Regions from separate parts of the Homo sapiens genome. Here region 1 is linked to region 2. Evidence: promoter capture Hi-C in 16 types of primary human blood cells and fetal thymus (Javierre and others, 2016). All regions are on one chromosome and are shown on one strand. The core of a region is centred on a gene start or on the middle of the fragment in contact, and the rest is flanking DNA. Distances in the headings are between cores, read along the strand shown. Region 1 overlaps RAB8B (RAB8B, member RAS oncogene family). Region 2 holds the start of RPS27L (ribosomal protein S27 like).

Region 1 (6,525 bases), core at 320-2,819, 100 kb before region 2:
TAATGTATTCAATAGGAAGCTTCTATTTCTAGTTCCAATGGAGTGTAAAGTTTCAAAGGTAATGATGGAAACAATGTTAAGATACTGGCATAGACAGTTCTGTTAGAGGTAAGAAGAGTTAGTAGCATAAGGTACGCAATTATAGTCAGGACTCAGGATAAAACAAACTTTCAAGGTTGTCTTAATGATTTCAAATTTAAGCAAACTTTAGCAACTTCAAAATCGTAGTTATGCAGATATAAATACCTGTCACATGAAAACTGAATAATTTTATGGCAAAAATCGAATTTGTGCCATTATTATTTTCATTATTCTCATCAAAATTCAATTAAAGATCACTTAAAGAGCCAGAAGAAAGGACTGAAACAGTGGCAGCTCAGAAATAAGAATCCTAAACAAACAGAACTAAGAATCAGAGTTCAACCAAATGAGTATCTGAGTCAGGAAAAAAATGAGTTTAATTTGAGTATCTTATAATTAGACCTATCCTTTTCATCAAATGCCAAACAGACAGCATAATGGAAATAAAAATTATAAGTGATACAAACCATTTTTCTGTTGAGTTTTGTCATTATATCTCGTGCAAGTGTAAAAAATGCCTATAGGTAAAACAAAACATTTTCATTATTATATATTCACTATATATATGTATATATATATATATACACATATATATATTCCCCCCGCCTCAGAGATGGGGTCTTGCTATGTTGCCCTGGCTGAATTGGAACTCCTGGGCTCAGGCAATCCTCCCACCTCAGTCTCCTAAGTAGCTGGGACTACAGGTGTGAGCCACCATGCCTGACTTATTTTAAAACAGAAATACAGAATTTTTCATTATTTCAATATAAATATACCACTTTAAAGCTTTACATTAAGAAAGTAATAATTGTAATCATAGTATGCATGTGTTTACTCTTTTGAGATTGTATCATAAACATTTTCCAATGTTATCAAACTATCATTCATTCATCAAATATTTTCTTCATGTGATATAATATCACAATAACACCCTTGTTGAGTCACGAGTAACTTCTTCAGTACACCAAGAACAGGACAGAAGCTCTGTCTAAGCTACCCCACTTCCCTAGAGCAGGGCACAGTGCTGATCTAGGAAATGCTGACTATCTGGTTTAATGAGTGAATAAATAATTATGTATTACCCTATAGCTCTAAAATGTCTTCACAAAAATCTCTACTTTTTATTTCTGGCTTTTTCTTTCAAATTGCTCTCACTCTTATAGCTGAATATGTATAATCTTCCATGTCTTACTCCAAAATCCCAACAGTTCCTGGAGCTCTCGGCTAAATTCCCCACCATGGAAGTCAGTTCGAATAGAAGCAGGGCAAATCTGATTAATCTTCGTGATAATTTATCCATAATGTCTCTTGATACAAACCAAATATTTTTTAAATCCATCATCACTTTTTCTATGAAGCCAGGAACTGTTAAAGATTCTTCATTTGTCACCATGCTAAACCTATTGTTAAATCAACCTCTTTGTTCCCAACACTCCTGATCCCCAAAAACTGTTCAGGAAAAGGATTATTTCCAATCCAATCAAATAAAAACAATACGACAACTACTATTATTACTCATTGTCAGTGTCTCACTGTCAAACTTGTCACCTATGAGCCTAACCACACTGATTTAAAGCTCTGGCAAAGTTGTTACCATCTGTATGCCTTGCTAGAATAAGCAGCTCAGGCAACTCCCAGTTCAGGGAGTTCTATCCATACTGTTGCAAATTATGGGATTTCACTCTTTTTTTATGGCTGAATAGTATTCCATTGTGTATACATACCACATTTTCTTTATCCATTCATCCACTGATGGACACTTAGGTGGATACACTGATTCCCTTTCTTTTGGGTAAATACTCAGTAGTGAGACTGCTGGATCATATGGTAGTTCTATTTTTAGTTTTTTTATTGTTCTCCATAGTGGCTGTACTAATTTACATTCCTACCCACAGTATATGAGGGTTCCCCTTTCTCTACATCCTTTCCAGCATTTGTTATTGCCTATCTCTTTGATAAAAGCCATTTTAATTGGGGTGAGATGATAGCTCACTGTACTTTTGATATGCATTGCCCTGATCACTACTGATGTCGGGAATTTTTTCATATACCTGTTGGCCATTTATTTGTCTTCTTTTGAGAAATGTCTATTCAGATCTTTTGTCCATTTTTAACTTGGATTATTTCTGATGGCGGGAAATCCTTTTGTATCAAGCAGAGGGAAGCATTTTTCTGCTTATCTAAGCTTGTGTAAGTAAATCAGTAGAGGCTTCCTGTTTCCTAACACCCATCGGCCAACCTAAACAAATAACTGTTACGTTATTTAAAACAAAGAAAAAGTTCTGATCAGTGTCCACTGGCTAATAAAGTCATGTAGGTCTCGATTTTTAACCATCATGTTATGATGAACAATGAGTAACCTAGGAAATTAAATGTTTATGAAACTATCAGTATTATTAAAAGAATTACATGTATTAACACATATCACATGTAAATTACACGTATTATTTTTATGATCAGTTGAAAAAATGTTTTTTAAAAAAAATAACAGTTCCCTTGGTGAAGAAAACCTATTATTTTTTTTTTTTACACTTTAAGTTCTGGGATACATGTATAGAACATGCAGGTTTGTTACCTAGGTATACACGTGCCATGGTGGTTTTCTGCAACCATCAACCAGTCATCTACGTTAGGTATTGAAGAAAACCTATTCTCATAAGACTTTAGATGGTTTGGTTTTCCTTAACAGCTAACTTAATGAAAATTTATTAAAGCTACTCCCTGATAAACACTTTCCTATTTCCACTAAATGCCACTGTTACAATTTATTGTGCTTAATCTACCTCAAATGTGTACGCTAAAGGAATGTGTCCAATAAACTAACAGCTTAATTCTCCCTTGAGAGAGTACAGCCTTAAAAGTGATTTAACTCTTCTGCTGCAGGCATACAGGGTGACATGAATGAGCACAGGATACTGGTTGGTCTTCTAGTCCAGGATTTCCAGCTGCCCAAAAAAAGGGCAAAACTGAACTTCCATAATCTATTCTGTGAATCTTAACTGAGCAAGCTAATATAATCCAGGTGGAGGCTAGATGCTAGAAATTCAACAACCAGCGTCTACATAAAAATCAGAAGCAGCTGGGTATGGTGGCTCACGCCTGTAATTCCAGCACTTTGGGAGGCCAAGGAGAGGGGATCACGAGGTCAAGAGATCGAGACCCTCCTGGCCAACATGGTGAAACCCCGTTTCTACTAAAAATACAAAAATTAGCTGGGCGTGGTGATGCACACCTATAGTACCAGCTACTCGGGAGGCTGAGGCAGGAGAATCGCTTGAACCTGGGAGGCAGAGGTTGCAGTGAGCCGAGATCATGCCACTGCATTCCAGCCTGGCGACAGAGTGAGACTCCATCTCAAAAAAAAAAAAATCAGAAGCACAAAAGTGTACAAAGTAGAGTTGGGTCAACAAAAGGCATTCATTAGGTCAGAAAATACCAAAGCTCTGAGAGCTGTTTGAACACAGGCCCCTAAGCACTGGTGCTGCTCCGTAACAGTCACCAAACGTTTCCTTCTTACCTCTTCTACATTTGCACTGGATTTTGCGCTTGTCTCCAAGAATTTAATCCCATAGTCAATTGCTAGCTGAAAAGTAAACAGAAATATTTAAATTTAGCAAAAGATACTTGAACACATAATGCATTTGTATTTCTTAGGTTTTTCAAAGTCTCAAAGGTAGGGTATCTATTTCAGAACTCCTGTGGTTCTCAAATTTCTTTGCTTTCTTCTACTGTATTCAGAATTTAATAATTTAACTTAATCATCGTAAGAAGGATGGCACAACTTCCATTTCAAACATAATTTAAGGCCGGGCATGGTGGCTCACGCACTTTGGGAGGCCGAGGCAGACGGATCACGAGGTCAGGAGATCGAGACCCTCCTTGCTAACATGATGAAACCCCGCCTCTACTAAAAATACAAAAAATTAGCCGGGCGTGGTGGCACCCGCCTGTAGTCCCAGCTACCCGGGAGGCTGAGGCAGGAGAATTGCTTGAACCCAGGAGGCAGAGGTTGGAGTAAGCCGAGATCGCACCACTGCACTCCAGTCCAGGTGACAGAGCGAGACTCTGTCTCAAAATAAATAAATAAATAAAATAATAATAATAATTTAAGTACTTCTCTTTTTTTCTGTTTTTGTACTTTTAGTTCTCTAATATGGGATAAATACCCACCCTCCTAAGGTAGCAGAATAGGGTCTGGAGGCAGGGAACCTAAGGCCAATTCACATTGACTTCCTAGAACTAAATCAAAAGAAAAACCCCAGCCTTCCATGCCCAAGTAACAAAAGTACAGGGGTTACTCCCTTTGCAACCTCCTCCCCTTTTCTGACTCACAGATTAAAAATGGAAAGTACCTCTGATTGGTCCCCTCCCACAACCAATCAGACGTCTGCGCAGGGTATAACTTTGTAACTTCATTTCATCCTTTGATTGGTCACCTTCTGCAACCAATCAAACTGGTCATGGGCCACTACTTCATTTACAGAGTGTAAACCAAGTAACCCATGGGAAATTTCTAGAGGGTATTTAAACCCCAGAAAATTCTGTAACCAGTGCTCAAGCTGCTTGCTCAAGCCCACTCCCACTCTGTGGAGTGTACTTTCATTTCGATAAATTTGTGGTTTTGGCTTCATTCTTTCATTGTTTGTGTGTGTGCATTTTGTCCAATTCTTTGCTCAAAATGCCAAGAATCTGGCTGACTTGTAGTCAAGACCCTCCACTGGTAAAACTACCATTATCTTGGGATTCATTCACTCCTTTTATCTGCTCCCAAAGTTTAATTCTCCAACAGTTACTGTATTGACTTTTAGGCCGGGTGTGGTGGCTCACGCCTGTAATCCCAGCACTTTGGGAGGTCGAGGCAGGCAGATCACCTGAGGTCAGGAGTTAAGAGACCAGCCTGGCCAGCATGGTGAAACCCCGTCTGTACTAAAAATACAAAAATTAGCCTGGTGTGGTGGCAGACGTCTATAATCCCAGCTACTTGGGAGGCTGAGACAGGAGAATCGCTTGAACCAGGGAGCCAGAGGTTGTAGTGAGCCAAAATTGTGCAATTGCACTCCAGCCTGGGTGACAAGAGTGAAACTCCATCTCAAATAAAAAAAAAAAAAACTATACTTACTTTTAATTACTTTTTTTTTTTTTTTGAGACACAGTCTTGCTCTGTTGCCCAGGCTGGAGGAGTACAGTGGCACTATCTCAGCTCACTGCAACCTCCGCCTCCTGGGTTCAAGTGATTCTCCTGCCTCAGCCTCCTGAGTAGCTGGGACTACAGACGCACGCACGCCACCATGCCCGGCTAATTTTTGTATTTTTAGTAGAGACAGTGTTTCACCATGTTGGTCAGGCTGGTCTCGAACTCCTGACCTCGTGATCCACCCACCTCGGCCTCCCAAAGTGCTGGGATGACAGGTATGAGCCACTGCGCCAGGCCTTAATTAATTTTAATAAATGAGTCCAGAATTGAACAAAAACTTAAATACTAAAGTATTCATGCTTTGATTTCTATTGATTGAGACAAATTGCGAACTCTTATATATTCCTCAAAAAGTTCCTAGTTCATTTACAATGCTAAAATTAAGTAAATGTTTTTAGGGGAAAAAAGTTTGCAGCAAAAGTTCACAGTCAGATTGAAAAACAAAATGTGGCTGGGCATGGTGCCTCACACCTGTAATCCCAGCACTTTGGGAGGCCGAGGCAGGTGGATTGCTTGAGGCCGGGAGTTCAAGAGCAGCCTGGCCAGCACGGCAAAACCGCGTCTCTACTAAAAATACAAAAATTAGCCGGGTATATGTGTGTGGTGGCACATGCCTATAATCCCACCTTCTTGGAGGCTGAGGCATGAGAATTGCTTGAAGCCAGGAGGCAGAGGTTGCAGTGAACTGAGATTACGCCACTGCACTCCAGCCTGGGAGACAGAGCAAGACTTTGTCTCAAAAAAAAAAAAAAAGAAAAGAAAATGCATTTTGCATATATAATTTTTTTAAAGGCTAAAGCAAAATTCCAAGACTTAAAAAGTGAAGCTTCTAAGTCAATTTAGAATCTGTCACAGAAGTAAATATGTACACAAAATATTCCTTTGCTTTACAGGACACAAAAGAGAGAAATGCCCATGCCCATAAACAACATATAAATGACATCCATAGCTTGATCAGTTACAAGGAATTTATCCATAAAACCTAACGCTAATGTGTAGTAAAATATTCTTAGGGAAAAAAATGAATTGGAAAATGATTCCTGTTGAAACTTCACCTATCCCTATAACTTCTTTTTCAAAAAGAATGTTTACTTTAACTTCAAAACTGGGCATTTTCACACAGATCTGGAAGAAACAGCCTGAACTCTAAGCTGCAGGAATCTGAGAAAGGACCAATTTGTATCTCCCAGAAAACATTAGCAAATTCTTTAGGAATGAGTCATGACCACACAGTATAGAGAGCTGGATCT
Region 2 (6,228 bases), core at 2,554-5,053:
AGGCTGCCTGTGAGTGTCTGAGAGGCTGGAGGATTTTGACACTACACCGGGCATTAGTTAACAAGAACTGAAGCCATAACTAGGCCTAATAATCAGAAATTGTTCTGAGACCTATGATACATGAAGTGCCAAAATAAATTCCAACTTAATTAAAAAGTTAAAGAATAAATATCACAAGAGAATTAGAAGAAAGCAACGGCAAATATTCAGTTAATCCTACAGTGACCAAGTCCTCTCTAAACACAATAGCAAAAGGGAAAAAAGCAATAAATTTGAAATATGTATGTGTGTGTGTGAATATATAACATTAAAAACTTCTGCATGATTAAAACAAATTATCAAAAAATAAAATTAGGCAGGGCACAGTGTGTCACAGTGTAATCCCAGCATTCTGAGAGGCAGAGGCAGGAGGATTGCTTGAGGCTGGGAGTTTGATGCTGCACTCCAGCCTGGGCAATAGAGCAAGACCCTGTTTCAAAAACACAAGAAAACAAAAGTAGAAAAATGCTAATGGCCAATAAGCATATGGAAAATATTAATTACAACAACAATGAAATATGACAAAGTATTAGTTCAAAACAATAGTTCTTCTGGATTGAGATAGGGAAAAACAAAATATCCAGTATTATCAAGGGTGCAAAGAAAGGGACATTCACATACATTTATATCTGGAAAATAAATTGGTTTCGCTTTTCTGGAGGGTAATTTGGCAGTTTATATTACAAACCTTAAAATGTGCATAACTTTTGACTCAGCAATTCCTCCTCCAGGAATTTATCCTAAGGGAATGAGGACAAACACAAAAACGTATCTATAAAAATGTTTATTGTAGCGTTAATAATGAAAAGTTGCTGGGAGGGAGTACTGAATGTTAAGCTTTGACAGAGCTAGGTAGTGGGTACATGGATCTTCATTTATTGCATTAATTTTCTATTGTTGCTGTAATCAATTACCATAAATGTAATGGCTTAAAACAACATAAATGTATTTATTTATTTATTTATTTATTTATTTATTTATTTATTGAGACAGAGTCTCGCTCTGTTGCCCAGGCTGGAGTGCATTGGCGCCATCTCCGCTCACTGCAACCTCTGCCTCCCAGGTTCAAGCAATTCCCCTGCCTCAGCCTCCCAAGTAGCTGGTGTCTACAGGTGTGTGCCACCACGCCCGGCTAATTTTTGTATTTTTAGTAGAGACGCAGTTTCACCATGTTGGCCAGGCTGATCTCGAACTCCTGACCCCAGATGATCTGCCCACCTTGGCCTCCCAAAGTGCTGAAATTACAGGCAACAAGACAAATTTATTATCTTACAGTTCTGGACAGAAGTCTGAGCCAGGTCTTATTGGGCTAAAGTTGAGATGTTGGCAGGGCTGTGTCCCTCTTTGGGAGATCCAGGAGGGAGTCCATTTCCTTGCCTTTTCCAGCTTCTAGACGCTGCCCACATTCCTTGGCTCATGGCCCTCTTCCATCTACAAGCCATCAACATAGCACCTCTCAGACCTTCCATTACCACATCTCCTTCTCGCTCTTCTGTCTTCCTCTTCCACTTTCAAGAACCCTTGTGATTCCACTGGGCCTACACAGATAATCCAGGATACTCCTTCTAGATTAAATCAGCTAATCAGCAACCTTTATTCCACTTGCCATGTAACTAAAGGTTCTGAGGATTAGGCCACTGATGTCTTTGGGGGCCACTATTCTGTGTATACAATTGTATTATTCTATATACTTATATACATTAAATATTTAATATTCACCAATTTTTATTAATTTTTAAGTATCAAATATTTAAAAACCCAAACCTAATGCCCAATTTAGTGTATGGCTGAAGTGAAAATATATATAGTCACAGGACAAATGCTATATGCCCATTAAGAAGCATAATGTAGAATATTCCAGCCTGGGCAACATGGCGAAACCCCATCTCTACAAACATTACAAAAATTAGCCAGGCGTGGTGGCTTGTACCTGCAGTCCCAACTACTCAGGAGGCTGAGGGGGGACAATTGCTTGAGCCCAGGAGGTCGAGGCTGCAGTGAGCCAAGATTGTGCCACTGCACTCCAGCCTGGGCAACACAGTGAGACCTTATTTAAAAAAAAAAAAGAATATGTAGTGACATGGAGTGATGCTCATTTTATAGTAAGTGGGAGGAAAATTCAAGTCTACAAAAGATTATGCACAAGATGATCCCAATTAGGTTAAGTCAAAACCCAAAATAAACCTATATCCAAGAGAGTAAAAAATATTGGGAAGGATATAGGTCAAAAGTTAAAAATGTTTATTTACAGATGGTAAATTTTCTTCTATTTTTCTGCATTTCCCAAAATGTATATTATACATGTATCCTTTTTGCAAAGACAAATAAGGTGATTAAGAACATCAAGTCAGGGCGGGACGCGGTGGCTCACGCCTGTAATCCCAACACTTTGGGAGGCCAAGGCGGGCAGATCACTTGAGGTCAGGAGTTCGAGACCAGCTTGGCCAACATAGTGAACCCCCCCCCCACCATCCCCCGTCTCTACTAAAAACACAAAAAGTAGCCGGACATGGTGATGGACACCTGTAATCTCAGGTACTTGGGAGGATTGAGGCAGGAGAATCGCGTGAACCCAGGAGGCGGAGGTTGCAGTGAGCCAAGATCGCGCCACTGTACTCCAGCCTGGGTGACAGAGCAAGACTCTGCCAAAAAAAAAAAAAAAAAAAAAAAAAATCCAGTTAGACCAATTTTCTGGTAAAGTGTCTTTCTGGTTTCTTGCCTTTTGGTCGCCCATGACACCCATTTTTCAAGCATAGAGTTTCCTCCTCAAAAATAGAGCATGCTGTCACGCGCCGGTAGTCCCAACTACTTGGGAGGCTGAGGTGGAAGGACTTCTTGAGCCTAGGAATTGGAGACAAGCCTGGGCAATATAGCAGGACCCTGTCTCCAAGGAAAAAAAAAAAAAAAAAAAGAATAATGGCGTGTTCCTGTGGTCCCAGCTACTCGGGAGGCTGAGGCGGGAGAATCGCTTGAGCCCAGGAGGTCGAGGCTGCAGTGAGCTGTGATGGCACCATTGCATTCCAGCCTGGGCAAAAAAGCGAGACCTTGTCTCAAATAATAATAATGATAAAGACTCATGTTCGGTCATCGGTGACATTCGCCTTTCTCAGGCCCCCTAGTTGTCCACTCTGCAAAGGACGAGTAATCCTCGGAAGGGGTGGGGCCTCTTAGTGAATGAGGCACAGCAGCGAATCCGTGCTGTTTTAAAAACTTTTTTTCAGAACAAAGCAAACCTAAGGCACAGCCATACCCCGCAGAAAACTTCGAAATCTGCGCCTTGAAAAGGGAAGCCAAAAGGATACGAGCCTCTTTCATAATCTCTCTGGCACGTATTAATGGTTAATAATACTGTATTTTTTAATACACAAAAGAAGAGAATAGTGGCATTGCCCCGTGTGCCCACCCCCAGAGCTAACCGAGAGCGGCCGGGCCAGGGGGCCGGGGGCTGAGCGGCCCGCCGGGTTCCGGGGTGGCGCCGGCCCCGGTGGCCGCGGGCGCTCCCTCGCCATGGCCTAAGCCCGAGGCCGCTCCCCAGCCAGATTCTGGCCTCAGGCACTGCAGAGCCCGCGGCGCTCGCCAACAAGCCCGTTAGACCCACGGGACTTGGCACCCTGGAACGCTCACCATCCCCGGGTCTTCCCTGCGCCCTGGACCCGAGTACCCTGCTGCGGCGTCCCCCTACCACCGAGAGGAGGGCCTAGAGCAGACAAGCCCGCCCCGCCGCTCCTCCCAGCAGCTTCTATCCCGGAAGTTGATGCCGAGCGCAGATCGCTTGCAGCTTGCTAGCTGTGTGGGCTGGGAGGTCTGGTAGGGCTGAGCTTGCAAGAGGATCAACATGCCTGTGAGTTGTTTACATCGGGCTCCGGGTTTGTTTTGGGCTTCTTTACCGAGAGTCATATGGGACGGATGAGTCCGGCTGCCTCTCGGGCCTGTAGTGTCCGAGAGTGGCGAGGCGGCTCAGGTTGCGCAGCGTCTTCGCGCGTGGCGGGCATGTAGTGACTTGCCCGGTCACCGCGGCGCGGCTGGCCCTGCAGGGGCGTGGGCTGCAATTCAGAGGCGGTGGCTGGGAGGGGAACAGTTCTCTGTGTAGCTTATGAGCGGTCTTGGTCTTTGAGGATGCCCCTGAGGTTGTGATCTTTGGGTCTTTTGGCTTTCCCAGTGATTGGTGTTTCTCGCCCCCTCTGCCTTCTTTCGGAAGCGATTTCCTACTTGTTTTCCTTTTTTAAAAACTGTCCTCGTTGTTGCCTTATATATTAATTCCGTCAAGGACGGTCGCTCAGCAAGAATTCCTGTCAGATCAGCTGTTGAGCCACAGGAGCAAAAATCACCCAGGCGCTGACGTTGTCTGGTCTACTTCAGCAGTTTCTACTCTAAGCGAGTCCACAGTCGGGGTCACTTTCTTTGCTTAGCACCTCGACTTCGCGCAGTTTTCATCGAAGACAGTTCATTACGCAGTTGAGTAAAGAAGGACAAAGTTTGCCTTACCATATGTTTCCTGATCGTGCGAAAGCCCTTTTCTAGGGACTTGGAGAACACAAGTATTATGAAAAGTACTGATGAAAGTTATTAACAGGTTTCGAAAAATAACTTTACTATCTGACGTGTTGCTTCTGCCGAGGATGACCGTTATTCCTGTTTTTGCATGTATATTTCACGTATGGTTAAATGTGCCAGCGTTGTGGTTTAAAACTAATAGTAATAATATGCTTCTTTGTTCAGTTGGCTAGAGATTTACTACATCCGTCCTTGGAAGAGGAAAAGAAAAAACATAAAAAGAAACGCCTAGTACAAAGTCCAAATTCTTACTTTATGGATGTAAAATGTCCAGGTAAAATTTGAAATCTTAATTCCTTTACTAAAGAAAATTTCTGTAGGGATTGCTAGTGTGGTGTGTATAGTTAAGATACATTAGAACCCTCTGTTGAGTAGAAGTGGGATTACAGAATTGGAAATGTCAGGGACATTTTCATAATAAATGTACTGAAACCATTGTAGAAACATTTCGGGGTAAGTGAAAACAGGCATTCAAAGGAGATATGCCATTTGACTTAGCAAGTCTTTAAGCTCTTCAGACGATGAGTTTTCTGTTTCATGATACAAAGAAAAGTCTGTTGATTCTTCAGTCTAAAGCTGTGCTGCCCAATACAATGGCCATTAGCTGAATGTGGCTACTGAGCACTTGTGGATAATCAAAATGTGGATACTCAAAATAGAGATGTTCTTTAATTGTAAAATACTCACTGGATTTTGACGATGTAGCACAGAAAAAAAATACATTGATTACATGTTGAAATGATATTTTGGAAATATTAAGTTTAATGAAATATATTATTGATTTTACCTGTTTTTAAAAAATTTTGTGTCGCTGCTAGAAAAGTTTATGTTACACATGTGGCTTGCTGTTTCATAGCACTGAAGTTACTGATTTTTTTACATATTACCAGAAATGTCGAACAGGTGCTGTTTTCCTCTGCTTTTCATTTTTAACATTGCCTTTTTTTTTTTTTAGGTTGCTACAAGATCACCACGGTTTTCAGCCATGCTCAGACAGTGGTTCTTTGTGTAGGTTGTTCAACAGTGTTGTGCCAGCCTACAGGAGGAAAGGCCAGACTCACAGAAGGTATATCATTTGGCATTCTCCAACCCAGTGATGAGATTGATGATTATAAATGTCTCTATCTTCACTGAAAAGTTTAAAGAAATCTTAATGATTACCAAAATAACTTATCTTTCATTGTGTGCTTTCAGTAAAGAATGGCCTGTTCAAATGGATATATTTATACTCTTGACCTTGCAGTGAACTCCATTGACTTATTTTTCTTAGTTTAGAACACATTTATTCACTTAGTTTGCTTAACTTGGAATAAATTAAGTCAGAATAGAAGCAAAAGAATAACTACATGTTATAGGACATGCAGATTTATTTATTTATTTATTTATTATTTTTTTTTTTTATTAGGAGTCTCGCTCTGTCACCCAGGCTGGAGTGCAGTGGCGCCATCTCAGCTCACTGCAACTTCTGCCTCCCCGGTTCAAGTGATTCTCTTGCCTCTGCCTCCCAAGTAGCTGGGACCACAGGCGCGTGCCACCATGCCTGGCTAATTTTTTGTATTTTTAGTAGAGGTGGGGTTTCACTGTGTTAGCCAGGATGGTCTTGATCTCCTGACCTCATGGTCTGCCCGCCTCGGC

Evidence for each region. Contacts are between HindIII fragments. The CHiCAGO score rates a contact against its expected background, and 5 or more counts as called.
Region 1: a contact is called between a fragment that was not itself captured here and the fragment with the promoter of RPS27L in region 2, in 2 of 17 cell types (total CD4 T cells and naive CD4 T cells). The highest score is 5.6, in total CD4 T cells.

Annotation. Positions count from the first base shown.
Region 1 is chr15:63,256,766-63,263,290 of GRCh38, reverse strand. RAB8B (RAB8B, member RAS oncogene family) reads right to left here. Exons shown (of 8, transcript NM_016530.3): 6 at 3,599-3,664; 7 at 549-599. Among named protein-coding and RNA genes, the nearest start is that of APH1B, 18 kb to the left of the region's middle. The HindIII fragment of the contact is 1,399 bases long and covers 870-2,268 here.
Region 2 is chr15:63,155,052-63,161,279 of GRCh38, reverse strand. It overlaps RPS27L (ribosomal protein S27 like), which reads left to right and starts at 3,803. Exons shown (of 4, transcript NM_015920.4): 1 at 3,803-3,880; 2 at 4,759-4,867; 3 at 5,549-5,659. The coding sequence starts at 3,875. RefSeq lists a silencer at 3,430-3,529 and enhancers at 3,711-4,284, 3,680-4,339, 4,490-4,579, 3,864-5,063. The HindIII fragment of the contact is 11,776 bases long and covers 879-6,228 here.